Regions from separate parts of the Homo sapiens genome. Here region 2 is linked to region 1. Evidence: promoter capture Hi-C in human tissues and cell types (Jung and others, 2019). All regions are on one chromosome and are shown on one strand. Each heading gives the region's core, a stretch centred on a gene start or on the middle of the fragment in contact. The rest is flanking DNA. Distances are from core to core; before and after follow the strand shown.

Region 1 (7,840 bases), core at 2,195-4,694:
GTATGCTAAGCCTCTTGTGCTGACAGGATGGCACACTCAAGAACATCTTGGGCAGCATAGGTGAGGGGGTTAGAGGCCAGGCTAGCCTCTTGTACCGGGCACCTGCGGTCATTTCTGGTTAAGAGCTGGAGACTTCCCTCAGGAGGTGAGGCCTGAAGAGACCACACCTCCTAGTTGGCTCAGGACAATCCCAGTTTATGTCGTTGTCCCAGTGTAATTATTAATGGCATCCTTTTTCATATCCATGAATTATTTGGCCCCCTTAGACATAGGGGACAGTCCAAGAAGGCCCAAACTTTGAAAGAGAAAGCAGATTCTGCCGGAGTTGTCATAAGGAGTTGCTTATAAGATGTAGACGGTTCTGCAATCCAATGGGTTCCTCCTTGGGCGTCACCCCCAGAGTCTGCCTGCATCCCATGTTCCCTGGCCATACATGCTGATCTTGGCGGGTAGAGTTCCCAGCTAGTCCCTTCTGAGGCAGGCTGGACCCAGGTGGGGCCCCTCCCTTTTATATGTCTGTTGACAGGCTCCTCCACCTCACTTCTGGGGGTGCTATTTCAGGTGGCTGGCTGCAAGATGCCCTCAGCAGAGCAAAGTCGGATTGCCCAGCTCCTCAGAGACACCTTCTCTTCAGTGCGACAGGAGCTGGAAGCTGTGGCTGGGGCAGTGCTGTCCAGCCCAGGCAGCAGCCCTGGGGCTGTGGGAGCCGAGCAGACACAGGCCCTGCTGGAGCAATACTCAGAACTGTTGCTTCGAGCCGTGGAACGGCGTATGGAACGCAAACTCTGAGTTCTGGAAGCCTGTCCCAAGTGAATGAATGCTCCAGCGATTCCAAACTGCAGCCCCTCTGCCCCTCACCAAAACCTGCGGGGCTGCTTGGAGTGGAAAGCAGGGAGCAGTGTTCAGAGGCAAAGCAGCCTTCCCAGCCGCTCCTCGTGGGGGGCCTGTATTTATTAATTTATTTCCCTGACTGTTGCCTCACTTCCTTGGAACTCCTGCCTCCACAGCCCCTCCAGTGGCAGGGACAGGTCTTGGGTCTTTGTCATCTTGGTGCTGTGAGAGGTAGGAGGGCAGCCTGCCCCATCTAGGAATCTGGGAAGGGCTGGCCCTCTCTTAGAAGCCATTTGAAATTACTGCAGGGATTAGCTCCCTGTGGTGGAGCATACACAGGGTACTCTGGGGTCGAGGTGAGAGGTGATGTGGTATTCAGTGCCCGTCAGCCAACTGTGGGCCTTCACCTCTACCTGCACTTCCCCTCTCACACCAGCTGCACTCCCGTGGCTGCCAGAGCAGGGTGGTTTTCCCCAATACCTGGAGCTCAGAAAGGCAGAGCCATCTGGCCCTCCAGGGTGTCCCCAGCCATCAGGAGACTTGAGTTGGTATTTGGACCTGAGCCCGCACATTCCACTCCCATTCTCCCTCCAAGAGGGGCCCAGCATTGTATTTCCCTGTGACCCCTTACTCTCCTGGCCAGAACTTGAGCCAGCTGTGGGATGTTGCTGCAGGACAGTAAGCCCTCACCTGGGCAAACATGAAGCTCTGGCCTCCTTTCCTCAGCCCCTTGTTCTTCCCTGTCCTCCACCCTGGACCCCAGCCGGCTGCTGGAGCCCAGAGGCCACCTTCTCCCTGCATCCTGAATGATGCTTAGTCAGAAGCCTGTGTTGGAACATCCCTCGTTTACGGGGCGCTGGCCTACCTCCTGAGGACCTCAGCCACAGATGAGATCACACGCATGCACGTGCACACATGTACACACACACACCTACCTGCACAGCACGCTGTTGAGTGTTGGTTGCTAGAGTATCTGGCTGGCTGCTGTGTGCCTGGTTTCCTCACATCCTGCCTCAGCTTCACCACCCTGGCTTATGTGGAACACCTATCAGGGAGCAGAAAAGGGGTGCAGTACACTAAGTGAACCCAGATTCTGGATTCTTGGTGTCCACAGCCTAGCTGATACGAGATAGCCCATAGGACACCTGGTTTAGGTAGAAGGAGCCTCCTCAAAGGCAGTGCTGGGCACCCACGGGTGTGCTGGATACTGGAGTTTGAGAGGAGGGAGGTGCTGGGGCCAAAGGAGACACTAGAAAAGTGGTAGATGGGACAGGTAAGTGGCAGAGGTGAGGGGATAAGTTAGAATGTAAAAGGGCAGTAATTAGGGGTGAGGGAAAGGAGATAGGGGACCCTAGGAGGTAGAGTGGGACCATGTCGTGAGGCAGTTGAAGAGTTGAGGAAAGGTTTTTCTGGGCCCTACTGCTCCCCTCTGCTGCAGGTAAGTCAGAGCAGCTTTACCACAGCTTCAGGCCACGAGAGCCCCTTCACCCGCCCTGCTGCGCCATAGGCAGAGGCTTATAAAGAAATGGGTTCTGGGCCAGGTGTGGTGGCTCAAGCCTGTAATCCCAGCACTTTGGGAGGCCGAGGCGGGTGGATCACCTGAGGTTAGGAGTTCGAGATCAGCCTGGCCAACATGGTGAAACCCTGTCTACTAAAAATAAAAAAATTAGCTGGGCGTGGTGGTGGGCGCCTGTAATCCCAGCTACTCGGGAGGTTTAGGCAGGAGAATCGCTTGAACCCTGGAGGTGGAGGTGGAGGTTGCAGTGAGCCGAGATCGCGCCATTGCACTCCAACCTAGGTGACAAAGCTACACGCCATCTCAAAAAAAAAAAAGAAAAAGGGTTACAAAAGGTTCCCAGCTCCGGGGCATCAGCCTGAGTGCGCTTGAGCTGCTCCAAACCTGGCCCTTCCCCACTCCTCTAGCATCGCCACCCGCATGGCCCTGGAACTCCCGCGGCGGCGGGGGCGGGCCCGTGCCTGCTGTGCCCCGACTTCCCACACCAGCCGCGCCCACCGCAGGTGGGACTCAGGTTCGCCCTCTGGGCCAGGTCCTTCACGAGGAGGGAGCTACCCTTCGCCAGAAGTTTGTGAGAATGTGGCCGCCCTTTTCCTGCCCTCTGCCCCATGTGGGTGGGGGGCCTCGTGGCCCGGCCGGCGCCCCGTCCCCTTCTGCATGTCTGAGGCCACCGGCAACCGCCGCCCCACTCCAGATTTGCCCCCGCCTTGTTTTGAAAGCCCCTTATTTATAACTTTTATACTTTGTGCAGGTCGCGGCGCTTCCTGCCTCATCCTCGGCTGCATGGGGCGGGGGCGCTGTTTTTAACGTGCCCGTTTGTACTGATGTATGAACTTGTCAATAAACACAATTGTTTGTTAACCCTGGGATGCCGGCCAGTGGGGCAGGCCGAAGCGGGCGCTGCCAGTCGCTCCACCGCTTCGGTGGCAGAACCCGGTGTGTGTCCAGGGGCAGGACGGGGCGGGGTGCTGGGGGTGTGGCCTGCGGCGGGTGCCTCTGGAAGGGCGGGGCGAGGGTCTGGGGGTGTGGCCTGCGGCGGGGACTCTGGGGAGGGCGGGGCGAGTGCTTGGGGTGTGGCCTGCGGCGGGGCGTCGGGGAAAGGCGGGGTCTCGGCCGGCGCTGACGCAGCCATGGCGGAGGCGGCTTTGGAAGCCGTGCGGAGCGAGTTACGAGAATTCCCGGCCGCTGCAAGGGGTGAGTGGCTCTCCCACAGGCTGCGGCGATTTCCGAACACGGGAGGGGCCCTGGGATGCCGCTGACACCGGGGGCTCGGAACCTCGTGTGTGCGACTGCCCTGAGGCCCCGCTCGGGTTGCTCTTCTGTGGCAACCTGCTTCCCTTCTCCCGTGTTCGCGCGCTCCCGCGGCTTCCTGGGTGATTCTGTTCACGTTGTTCCCAAGGCCCGGTGCCGTCTTGACCGTGGTCGCGGCGAAGCCCTGTGTTTCCTACAGTCTTGAGCAGCTTGCTGTTACCCTTGTTGAAAGCTCATCGAAGGCACACAGCTGGTGGTCGGATTCCTCCCCCACGCGCCCCACCTCCGACCTCAACTCCCTTGTCGCACTTTGGGAGGATTGCAGGCTGACCAAATGGTCCCTGGCTCTTCCCCTGCTTGGTTTTTATTCCTTTTCTTTCTTTCTCTCTTCCCTCCTTCCTTCTTTTTTCTATTTTTAAATGATTTCTTACCACTGAACAGCAACACAGGCTCATGTGTATGTGATGGGTATGTAATATACAGTGGTACGCAATGTAAATGAAGCAAGGTTTCCTCCCAGCCCCAGTTTGCATTCTTACAGAAAGATTGTTTATATCCGTGCACACACGACTTTTTACCCTTTTTTTGTACAAATAGTAGCCTGCTAAACACACTCTTCTGCACCGTGTATCTTGGAGATCATTTCACATTCCTCTACCTCAGTCTTTTTCACGTCTGTGTGCTAGTGCTGTATTCACTTAGTCATTTAGGTCATGTCCAATCCGTTGTTTTCAATAATGCTGCAACGAATACTTTGAGGATTGATTTAACAAATACTTATTCAGCATCTCTGTGTGCCAGGCTCTGTTCAGTGTGTTTGAGATACATCACTGAACAAAACAAATCTGTCTTTTACAGTCTATGTCCTGTTACATTCTAAGTGAGAACGTGGACAATCAACCACAGGTGTACTGAATGAGTACATTGTAGAGTAGAAGAAGTAGGTTAGAAGGTAAGTGCAGGCAAAGCCCTCTTTGGGAGTATGCCTGATGTGTTTAGGAAACAGTGAAGAAGCCAGTCTGCAGGAGCAGCGTCTTCTGCGCATGTGTGAGTATGTTTGTTGGTTAAATACTTTATATTTTTTGAGACAGGGTCTTACTCTGTCACACAGGCTGGAGTGCAGTGGCACGATCATAGCTCGCTGCACCTCGACCTCCCAGGTTCAAGAGATCCTCCTGCTTCAGCACCTGGGAGTAGCTGAGACTACAGGCATGCGCCACCACGCCTGGCTAATTTTTTTGAATTTTAGTAGAGACAAGGCTGGTCTCAGATTCCTCAAACAATCCTTCCACCTCAGCATTCCAAAGTTTTGGAACGCCATGGAACACATAAGCCACTGCTCCCGGCCTTGTTAAATTCTTAGCAGAGTTATGGGGTCAAAGCAATTGTTTGGATCCCTTTTGAAATTTTCTCACTTGGAAGCCCCAGGAGAGGAAAGCAGCCATTCTCTAAAGGAAATGGTGAGCAAGTAAAACAAATCCCTAATTGCAGAAGTCCAAAGGGTGAAAAAATGGCAGTTTCCATGTATTTTCAGAATCCCAGGCTGTGTGCAGTACTCACGCCTGTAATCCTAGCACTTCAGGAGACCAAGGTGGGAGGCATCTCTTGAGGCCAGGAGTTCAAGACCAGCGTGGGCAACATAGTGAGACACCATCGTGTGGTGGCATGTGCCTGTAGTCCCACCTCCTGAGGCAAGAGGATTGTTTGAGTCCAGCAGTTTTGATGACAGTGGCGGGCAGTTGGAAGCAGATGCTGTCATCATGCTGGCTGCAGTGGGGAGGCACAAGTCGGGCAGCAGAAGTGGCTCTGGGAGCAGCAGTGGTGGTAGTGAGTCCCCTGTTCCCTGCATCCCCGAGGCAGCCGACTGCACCACCCCCACCCTCACATGGCTGGGCAGGACCTGCTCCTCAGCCCAGACCCTCTGCTGCAGCCTGAACCTCGCTCCCTGCCACATCCCAGAAGCCTGCGAGCACCCTGCCAAAGGTGCAACTGGGACTTGTAGGGACTTGCACTTGTGAGTACAAAAATACTCACACATGTGCACAAAGACCCTGCTCCTGCAAACTGGCTTCTTCACTGTTTCCGGAACACAGGACTACTAGGCTCATTTGTTTGGGGTGGTCAGAGCTGCCATGCCATATGCACCTTGCCCGCCGCCGCTGTGGGGAAAACGTGAAGAGGAGAGGCAGCTGGGGCCACATGTTCCACAGAGCTGGCGGGAACTGGGGACAAGTGGGAGCCCCACCCCTTCCAAGTTGGTGGAGTGGGAGCTCCCTAGGCGCAATTACAGCCACCCAAGCCAGGACTGCAACTCAGGCACCCCTGTGCTCTTGGGAGCTAGGAGCAGGCAGGAGCCCCACCCTCCTAGATGCAGCTGCAGCCTCCCAAGCTGCAGCTGTGGACCCAGGCATGTCTGCACTTTTGGGGACCCAGGAAGGCCCCTTCCTGCTGCCGCAGGCTTGGAAGTGCCTGATCCTGCTGTCTGGCTTCTCCCCACTGTCAGCACCTGATCAGATCATGGAGCAAAGTTGAGGCCGAGCCTGGGTGCTATTGCAGTGCTGACACACCAGCCCCCTGCCTCCTTGGCCCCCTCTGGCCTTTGGGTGCCAACGAGCATGGGAGGGAGGCCAAGAGGGGCTGAGGGCAGCTCAGTGCTGGCCTGCAGGCACCCCCTTGGCACAAACAGCTTGGGTGCCGTGAATGGTGGCAAGAGGCAGACAGGTTCCTGGGTGGAAGGTGGCGGGTCCCGGTGAAGCCCGACCTTCAAGCCAGGGAAGGCCTGAAGCCTGGGGGCTGGGCTGCCGGTTCCATGGACCGGAATGGGAACTTTTGGTGCTTTTTCCGGCCCACCCATGGCTGCCCATGGACCAATAGGCATGTACCTCCTCCCCTGTGAGACCCATAAAAAGCCCCTGACTCAGCCAGACCAGAAGAGACGATGGGACGACCAGCTGCGGGGAGGAGCTACCCTCTCTGCTGAGAGCTGGAGAGATGACAGGACAACCTGCCCACAGAGAGGAGCTACTCTAGCCAGGGAAGCAAGCAGGCATGCCAGCTCTTTCTTTTCCAGTATTCCTGGGCCCAGTGGGGTCTTCTCACTCAGTTACAATATTTGATCTAAGAACATTCACTTTCCAACTGATCAGAAAGTAAAGGTGACTGGCATGGTGTGGCTGTGAGAGATGCAGTGTGACCTCAGAGGTGAACATCAGTGCCGGGACCATTTGGAGCAGGATGTGGTAACCACCAAATGGAAACCACGGCCTTTTGGCTCGACCTAGAGCATGAATGTAGCAAAGCGAAGCCCTGTACACTTTATAAAAACCAGCAGAAAGACACTCCAGTCTGAGTGAGCAGCTGGAACAAAGCTCTGCTGAGCTGAACACTCAACAGGACTACCTGCCTGCAGAGAGAGGAGCTATCCTCTTTGCTGAGAGCTGAACACTCGTTGGGACACCCTGGCTGCGGAGAGGAGCTGCCCACTGTGGGTCTCCTCTGAGCTATCCTATGGCTCAGTAAAGCTCCTCTTTGTCTTGTTTACCCTCTGCTTGTCTGTGTGTACCTCATTCTTCCTGGATGCAGGACAAGAATTGGGACCTGCTGAGTGGCGGGGCTAAAAGAGCTGTAACATGAAGAGGACTGAACCATGCGTCTTGCTCGCCACATTGTGGGTGTCCAGAAGGAAAGAAGAACTGCGGCCCTTTGGGGAGTCCAGACCCAGGAGCTTCCCAAGCTGGGGTTCTGACACCCTCTTTAGGGCTCTGCGGTTCCTGGTATCTGCAAGCTTCCAGGCACCACCATGCTTCCCAGTGTCAGCTGTGGAAGCTGCTTATGGTACACCTGGTCTAGCTGCAGCCTTGCAGGAAACCAGCACCTGTGTTGGCACCTGAAGCTGCCTGCCCCACCGCAGCCCACATGCCTAGCTGTGCGCAGTGGCCAAACCCCACACTCATTCGCTCACACACCCCTCGCTGCCCCACTCGCCCTTGGCAGGTGTGGGATCCAGGCCGGTAGCATGAGCTGAGCACAGCCTGCAGGGCCGAGTGGGCCCAATGGGCCCGAGCAAAACAGGCAAAGGCATCACTGGCCACAGAGGTTTCCAGCTGGTAAAGCAACACCCCAAAGATCCCGTGACAGTTTATGGCTGCGGTGAGCTATTATTGCGTCACTGCACTTCAGCCTGGGCAACAGAGCAAGACTCTGTCTCTTAATCTCAGCGAGTACAACAGGAAGATGTACTGA
Region 2 (7,840 bases), core at 2,657-5,156, 160 kb before region 1:
CAGATCAGTAGTGTTGGATAAGCCTCCTTCTGTTGACTCCTTCCTTAGTCTTCTCATTCTCCTTCATAGTGTTTTGTATTGTCACATAGCATGTCACGTAGTAGGTTCTCAGTGCTTGCTAATTCTTATCAAAGAAGGCAGTTTTGGATCATTGACCACAAAATCTGCTCTCCTACTCCCTACTTCTTTTTTGCCTTTTAAGAAACTACGCTTCCTTTTTACTGGTGTCAGGAGCACAGAAGAAAGAACAGCTGGTAAGGAGTAGAGAAGGAGAAAGAAAACTACTTTTTGAAGGTTAGGAGAAATACTGTCCATTGATTTACTTCAGCAACTGCCTGACACATAATAGATATTCACTAATACTTTCTTTGCACCTCATAGCTTAAATGTCTTGAAGAAACAAAAATTGAATGCACAGGATCAAGGCACTAAAGCTTAGATAACACACTCCTGCATCGTTTCCCTGTTTTATCAAGATATCTTTCATCTTTATATCCGGCAATTTAGTGGCAACTCTTCGCTTTCCAACTGCGCACTGAGTCTTTCGGTCTCCTCCCCATTTTCCTAGTCGTCTTCGGTTGTGGATGTTGTAAACTCGACCATCCGTCTCTCAAGGTCTTTGGCTTCAAGGTTTCCCAATGCTCTGGAGCTGTCCAAGCCCCGGTACTCCGGGGTGGAAGACCTCAGATTCATTTGACGGGCTTGTGGAGGTTGGGGGTCTGCGGAGCCCCGTGTGGGTGGGGCTGGGCGCGGCCGGGGCGGAGCCGGCGAGGAGCCCTAGGGAAAGGGTGAAAGGCACAGTTGAGAAAGGCCCGCCGGGCATTGGTTTCACAGTTTCCACGAAGGCTTCGTGTGCAAGCCTGAGGAGTTTAGGTGCCTCCCTCCTGCCTCGCCTTTCTTGGTTCTAGAACCTTCAGTAGGCTTTTCTGGGTTGCAGGGACCCGGAAAAGCAGCGGCTTCCACTCGGGGGGCGGGTCCCAAGGGTCTTGCTGCTGCTCTGGGGCCGTTTGGACTCCTGGTGTTGGGGGAGGGGTCAGGGAGGTGCTGCTCGCGTCTCCTTTTGCGCCTGCGCGGCGGGCTCCGAGCGGGTAGGAGCGCGTGCGCGGTGACGTGGACGTCCGGTGCGCGCGCGCAGGCTCTTCAGCTGGAGCGGACACACGGTGTGCGAACCGAACAGAATAACCCGCCCCCAGCGGGATGTGAAGGACTCCGGGTGAGGCCGGCCACGCCCCGCACGGTAACTCTCGGGCCTGGGTGGAGGGCATCGCTTAGTACTGGCCCGATTGGAGTTTTTCGAGAGTTTGAAGCTCTTGTGTATTTGAACGGCGTGAGAAACGTTCCGCTGAGAGAGCTTCGCACGCCCTCGCCAGGCCGGGCCTTGCGCAGGGCCGCCTTTGGCGCGCCCCTGTGGTCCCTGAGCGAGGCTGCGCATGTCACCTCGCGCGCGTCCCCGGCCTCACTTCCGCGTCGCTCAGCTACCTAACTGGGAACATCGACGCCAGAGAGAGCGGCCACGAGGCGGGAGGGGTGAGAAGCGCCCATGGCTCGGCCCTGCCCTCGCGTGTGTGGGGTGCCGCTCCGCGTGGTACGGTCCGCGTGACGACTTCTCGCCCGGCGCCGGGCTCTAGGTCGAGAGCCACGCTTACGCGCTTTTCAGTTTAGAGCCTAGGTCTCGTGGTTCTAGAACTCCAAGGGAAACGGTGTCGGCGTCGCTTTTCTGAGAACTTGGCGCAGCGTTTTGACACCTGTGCAAACGTCTTTTCTAACAAGTAATTTCCGGCCAAATTGTTTGAGGCAGGACGTCAAGTTTAATAAAGGAGGGCGAGGAAGTGAGCTGTAGGAGTGGGGACTTGGTAAACAAAGGACCGGTGGTGTGTAAGTGCAGAAATGAGGGAGGGGAAAACAGGTGGGAAGAGCAGGTGTTATTTTCTTTATTCCTCTGTGGGGCAGCCTTTTACCTAGTTCTGTTTATGGGGTTTCCCGTTTCTGTTAAATGGTCAAGTAGGTCTCTGCCCTCAGTGCAAGGTATCTGGGACATTAACATCACCCCCCCACCGCCCCCCCAAAGCTCCAGTAGCCAAAGTTGAGGGATCTATGTGTCAGAAGAATATGGGGAAACTAGGGATCGTTTCAGACTGGGTCGGGAGTGCAAAAGTGGTAGTGTCTTGCTGTACAGATTTTTGCCTTGCCTTTCGAACCCTGGGAATGCCTTCTTTCTCTGGCCGGGGTGGAAGCAGGAACGGGTAAATGAGGTCTGAAAGGAGGGGTTACTGATGGCAGACCAACACGAGAAACCAAAGTGCACTCTTTTATTGGGAAGATAACTTTCCCAAGGTTCGCCTCGCCGGAGCAAACACGTGGATCATGAGAAGTCTCGAGCCCACCCGCGCGTGTTGTTGTAGAGCTTGCCAGGCTTATGCGGCTGAGTCCCTGGTTAACAACTGCTTGCTCTGTTCGTTCTTTTTGGGCACGATGCCGCGGCTAGGCTGCAGGGAAAGTGCCTGGGGGCGGCGTGACGGCTGCTGGGAAGGGGGTTGGCAGGGGAGGGTCTGGTGGCTGGTTCTGTAGTCTCCAAGGTAACAGAACGCGGCTGGGTCCCGCAGAGCGATCATCGGGTTCCGGCCGGCGGCACGTGATCTGTCGGGACTCTTCCCCGGAAGAGCTTTCCTTGCGGCATTTTTTCACGTGGTTCTTGGCCAGCTGTCCTTTGCAGTTGAAAAGCGGCGGTTTGTGGGTCATTAATAGTCGACGGCGTCTGCTCCTCTCGGGGAAGGCAGTGAGACCGAGCCTTTTACTTTCCTGCGTATCGGAACAGCGCTAGTGTTTCTTGCCGCCAACGGTTGTTTCTAGCGTTTGTGTGGGTTAAGTGGGTTGGGTCCACTTTACAGAAAACACAGGCTAAAGACTTGAGGAAATTCAGTGCCCTGGGTACCTTGGCATACTTACTTCAAGTTTGACTACTGCCAGTTTCTGCCTTAAAAGTTCTTCAAATTCTGCTTACCCAACTGCTAGAGACCTGTCAGCTTTCTGGCCCTGAGTTGTAGTTAGGGTCCATTCTTAGGAATAAAAAATACTCCTGCGGCTAGCAGTAACAAATGATATCTGGGAAGAGAAGGAGGCAGTACTCTCTTACGCAGGTGCAATTCTGTGCCTTAAAACCTAAAAGTGTTTCAGATAATATTTTGACATTTGCCCTATAAGGTTGTGACGATAAAATGCCCAGGATATTGTCTGTTCCGAAGTGAGTAGTTCTTAATAAATGGCAAGTACCATTTATTAAATTAGTAAAAATAAGCAAATGATGGTTAAGAGCGATTAAGAAAGTATTAATAGTTGGCTATTTTACTGTCTTTGCCACCATTTGCTTTCATTTTATTATATTTATATCCACATTCTGTTTTTAAGAAACTTAAAATTTCTTGACCCAGTGTTTATTGGCTAAATACTGAAATCTGAGTGAACCTGTTCTCTTGAAATTTGAGTTTCACAAATGTAATTTAACCATATTCTTATAGTGAAGGATCATATTAAGGAATATACTAACATCTTGGTGCCTGCCATACTACTGTATTTATTGTATGAAAGGTTGTAGAAGTTTGTAGCAATTTGGAAAACGTTCAGAATGTGTTGCTTAGCATTTGAATATTTGTGTTTTTAAATAATGGTATTGACTTGGAATTTTGATTTTGTGTAACTAATTTTTGGGGTTGAGCACAGTACATTAATCATTGAATTAGGAAACTATCTAGTAAAACTAGTGTATTTTGTGAGTTGTATGAGGATCATTGCTTTAGTAGATAAACATTTCCCAAAGAGGTCACTGGTGAAAAGACATTAAAATAGGGAGTCTGAAATTGTAACAATTTATGGAACTTGTTAGATTACTTACCTAAAAAATGTTTTCTATGATAGCTTTTGTGTGTGTATATGTCTTCTGGTGTGACATTTCAGAGTGTTACTGAATTTTCCCCTCCACAACTTATTTTGTTGGCTTTTTATTGTAGCTATTTTATCTAGATAAAAAAAAAATTTGATGTTGAAAAGCCGAATTGAAAGTTTTTGAATGTTAAGGTATATATATACCAAAATTGTGGTTTTCATTAAAGCTTTTAGTTTCCCAGAGTATTTTTAGGATGTTGCTAGAAGATTTATTTCTTCATGAGTAGCCTACCCTTTTCTTTTCTTTATTATTATTATTGTTGTTGTTGTTGTTGTTATTATTTTGAGACCGAGTCTCACACTATCTCCAAGGCTAGAATGCAGTGGTGCTATCTCGGCTCATTGCAACCTCCTGCCTCATCCTCCCGAGTAGCTGGGACTACAGGTGCGCAACACGACGCCCGGCTAATTTTTTGTATTTTTTGTAGAGAGAGGGTTTTGTCATGTTGGCCAGGCTGATCTTGAACTCCTGACATCAGGTGATTCGCCCGCCTCAGCCCCTCAAAGTGCTGGGATTACAAGCGCGAGCCACCGCTCCCGGCCTAGCCTACCCCTTTCTAAAGTACATTTGAGTTTTGCGGTTGGCTTAAGTAGACTTTAGAGTGGTCTTGGTGTGTCTGAAACAGCTGAATATCCTTAATTGACTGCCCTTTGATTAGAAAATTCAAATGTTTTACAATATTTATCTTAGAAAAAAAAGAAAATTCATATGGTAGCTCCAAACCTAGGCATATGCTTATAGCGAAGTGGAATCTGTGCCTAGATTGATGTAGAATAAGAATTTCATTCCATGTTCTTAAACCAGTAGCTGTTATGGCTCAAGATAGAGATGGTTTTAGTCATAAATTAAGTCTTTAATTCAATGCATTTTCATCAACTAATGGATTAATTTGATTAGTGGAGTTAAAAAACCGGCCTTATACAAATCATAAGTCAGAAGTTTATTTTCCTGTCTTCAGGCACATTTTTACATTTTTTTATTATATGCCTGTGCACAAAGTTGAAATAGGTTGATATGACTTCTCTGCACTAATATTTTGCTTCGGCAGAAAGAAAAACTCAGTGTGTGTATATAAAGTTAGTGTAAAATTTACTTCAAGTGCAGTCTGATTTTCACCAAACTGGGTTTTTGTCAACTGCATCTTTGACATTTCATAGATTAATCTTTAAAAGACAGTAATTTTTAAAGAATTGGTTAAAACTTCTCTGTCTTGGTTTTACTGGTAATGATCTGAAAACCAAAATTTTAGTTTATAGAAAGATGTTTAATAAATTCGGCACCTTTTCATGTAATTTATAGGTTTGGGATAACTAGATTTTTTTTCATATACTTCTTTGCTGCCTTAGTCATATGAAATGCACCTAAGGATGTTGTGCTCACGTGGAACACATACACACAAAGGATGTTTTGCATACTTATTCACAAAAATAGTTGGTGATTTGTAATAAAACCTTGAAGTTTATGAATTAATAAGTACAAGCTAGGAGTTTGCATTGTTTGAATTATACATCATTGTAGAGGTATTTTTTTTTTGCCAGTTCTTTAAGCTTTAATATTTTACCTTATTTGTGACTTCCGTTTAGTTTTGTTTTGTCAGTCTCTGATAGGTATCGCCTAAGTGTGTTAGTTTTAGAAAACCAATCAACTTCATAGGTAAAAGCTTGAGGCAGCTTTTGAAAAGAATCACTGTACATTTTATCTCTTTTAAAAATAAACTTCACATCAGAGGAGAGATTTTTTGTTGTTGTTGTTCCTGACCTTTCCTGATATTAGTGCTTTAGTGTTGGGAAGTGAATTTCTATTTTTATCTCTAGTCATAATAGGAAACAATAGTAAACCTTTTGAAGTCGTGATTTTAAAAATATCTATTATCTGTAGACTAACAGATATTTTAAGCTTTGGAGCTGTATGACCAATCTTGTAAGAAGAGGTAAAATTCAGATTAGGTGCTTTTGCTGCTCATCATTAGCTCTGATGAAAGGTAAAATACTTTTTAATTATAATGAAGAAGACTAATAAGTGGCTGAATTTGATTAAGATTACTGACCCACTTACACAGGAGTGGTGGTGATGTAGCATCTTCCTTTTTGTATAAAAACTGGAAGCTGTAGCTTTAATTTGGCATATGAGTTCGGTTGATTTTAGCAATCAGATTTCGTTTTGGTTTTTTTTTTTTGAGACAGGGTCTCACTCTGTCATCTAGACTGGAGTGCAGTGGCACCATCACAGCTCACTGCAGCCTTGGCCTCCCCACCCCCAGGCTCGAGGGATCCTCTCACCTCAGCCACTCAAGTAGCTGGGACTACAGCTACACACCATTGTAGAGATGGAGTCTCACTGTGTTTTCCAGGTTGGTCTCAAACTCCTGGGCTTAAGCGATCCTCCTGCCTCAGCCTCCCAACGTGCTGGCATTATAGGCATGAGCCACCATGGCCGGCCTCATTTCTTTATTATAACTTTTTATTGAGATATAATTCACATAACATATAATTCATCATTTTAAAGTATACACCAAAAAGAAATCCCACACCCATTAGCAGTTAGTCCCAGTTACCCCTTCCCCTGAAACCACTAATCTACTTTGTTTCTCTAGATTTGCCTGTGTTGGACATCTCATATAAATGGAATCATACAATATATGTGACCTTTTTCTTTATAACCTTTAATAATTAACTAATTTTAACTTTATTTTTTATTTTTTTAAAGAGACGGGGTCTCACTCTGTCTCCTAGGCTGGAGTGCAGTGATATGGTTATGGCTCACTGCAACCTGAACTTCCAGGGCTGCTGAAGGTGTCCTCCTGCCTCAGCCTCCTGGCCACCATACCTGCTATTTTTTTTTTTTTTTTGGTAGAGACTGACTGGCTATTTTGACCAGGCTGGTCTTGAACTCTTGACCTCAAACGTTACTCCCACATGGGCCTCCTAAAGTGATGGAATTACCGGTGTGAGCCACTGCACCTGCCCACCTGGCCTGTGTTTTAGTTTTTAAAGGTTGTGTGTTCACAAGACACAAAATTTACAAAGTGTAAAAGGGTATCTTTTCCAAGTCATCAAGTTTTCCTTGGATATGACCAATACTACTGTTTTCTTTTCTGTCTTTCCAGAGATAGTCTGTGTAAAGCAAATATGTACATGTTCTTTTTCATTCTTTGGCTTTTTATTTATTTTAAAGACCGAAATACTGTCTATTTCTTTGATTTTAAAAAGGAAAAATCTTTTACAAGGGTTGAAAAACTACCTATCAGGTACTATGTTCACTGCTTGGATGATGGGATCATTAGAAGCCCAAACCTTATATTATGCAGTAGACTCATGTAAACAAACCTGCACGTGTTCTCCCTGTCTGAAGTTTAAGAGGTACAATAAAAAACTTTTAAAAGATGTGTGGCATAATTTACAACTCTTCTGAACATTTTACGCTTAATATATCTTGTAGATACTTTTTGCATGCATTCATTAAGCTTATACATTCTCTTTTGTGACTGTTAACATTCCACTCTATGGATGTGTCATCATTTGTTTTACCATTTTAAGGACTTCTCTCTTCCTGTCTAGTCTTTTGCTGTTATAAGTGGGAATGCAGGGGATAATCTTGTATAGATATCATTTATCACAGGTGTGTGTATTTAAAATAAAGTCCTATAGTGGGTTTTAACAGTGAATTAAGAAAACTTAAAGTCCTGGGAACAATTCTTTGTCATAGGATGATATATGGATTTGTACTTTTGATATTTTCAAGTTGCCCTCTCTTAGAGATTCTATTATTTTATACTCCCAGTAACTGCTTAGGGGAGAATGCTGGTTGACCTAACCCTTTCCAGCACTACCAGGCTTTGATTTTTGCCAGTCTGATAAGTAAAAAAACAGTATCTCAAGATGACTTTAATTTGCTTTCCTC

Evidence for each region. Contacts are between HindIII fragments. The study calls those that stand out against the background at their distance.
Region 2: a fragment that was not itself captured here is called in contact with the fragment with the promoter of JMJD7 in region 1 in 1 of the 25 tissues and cell types used here (dorsolateral prefrontal cortex).

Annotation. Positions count from the first base shown.
Region 1 is chr15:41,824,648-41,832,487 of GRCh38, forward strand. It overlaps JMJD7 (jumonji domain containing 7), which reads left to right and starts at 3,445. Exons shown (of 8, transcript NM_001114632.2): 1 at 3,445-3,541. The coding sequence starts at 3,478. It overlaps MAPKBP1 (mitogen-activated protein kinase binding protein 1), which reads left to right. Exons shown (of 31, transcript NM_014994.3): 31 at 562-3,208. The coding sequence ends at 789. It overlaps JMJD7-PLA2G4B (JMJD7-PLA2G4B readthrough), which reads left to right and starts at 3,445. Exons shown (of 25, transcript NM_005090.4): 1 at 3,445-3,541. The coding sequence starts at 3,478. RefSeq lists enhancers at 1,115-1,997, 3,043-3,272, 3,304-3,598 and a silencer at 3,333-3,422. The HindIII fragment of the contact is 30,158 bases long and covers 1-7,840 here.
Region 2 is chr15:41,659,289-41,667,128 of GRCh38, forward strand. It overlaps MGA (MAX dimerization protein MGA), which reads left to right and starts at 1,117. Exons shown (of 24, transcript NM_001400225.1): 1 at 1,117-1,237. The HindIII fragment of the contact is 3,273 bases long and covers 2,271-5,543 here.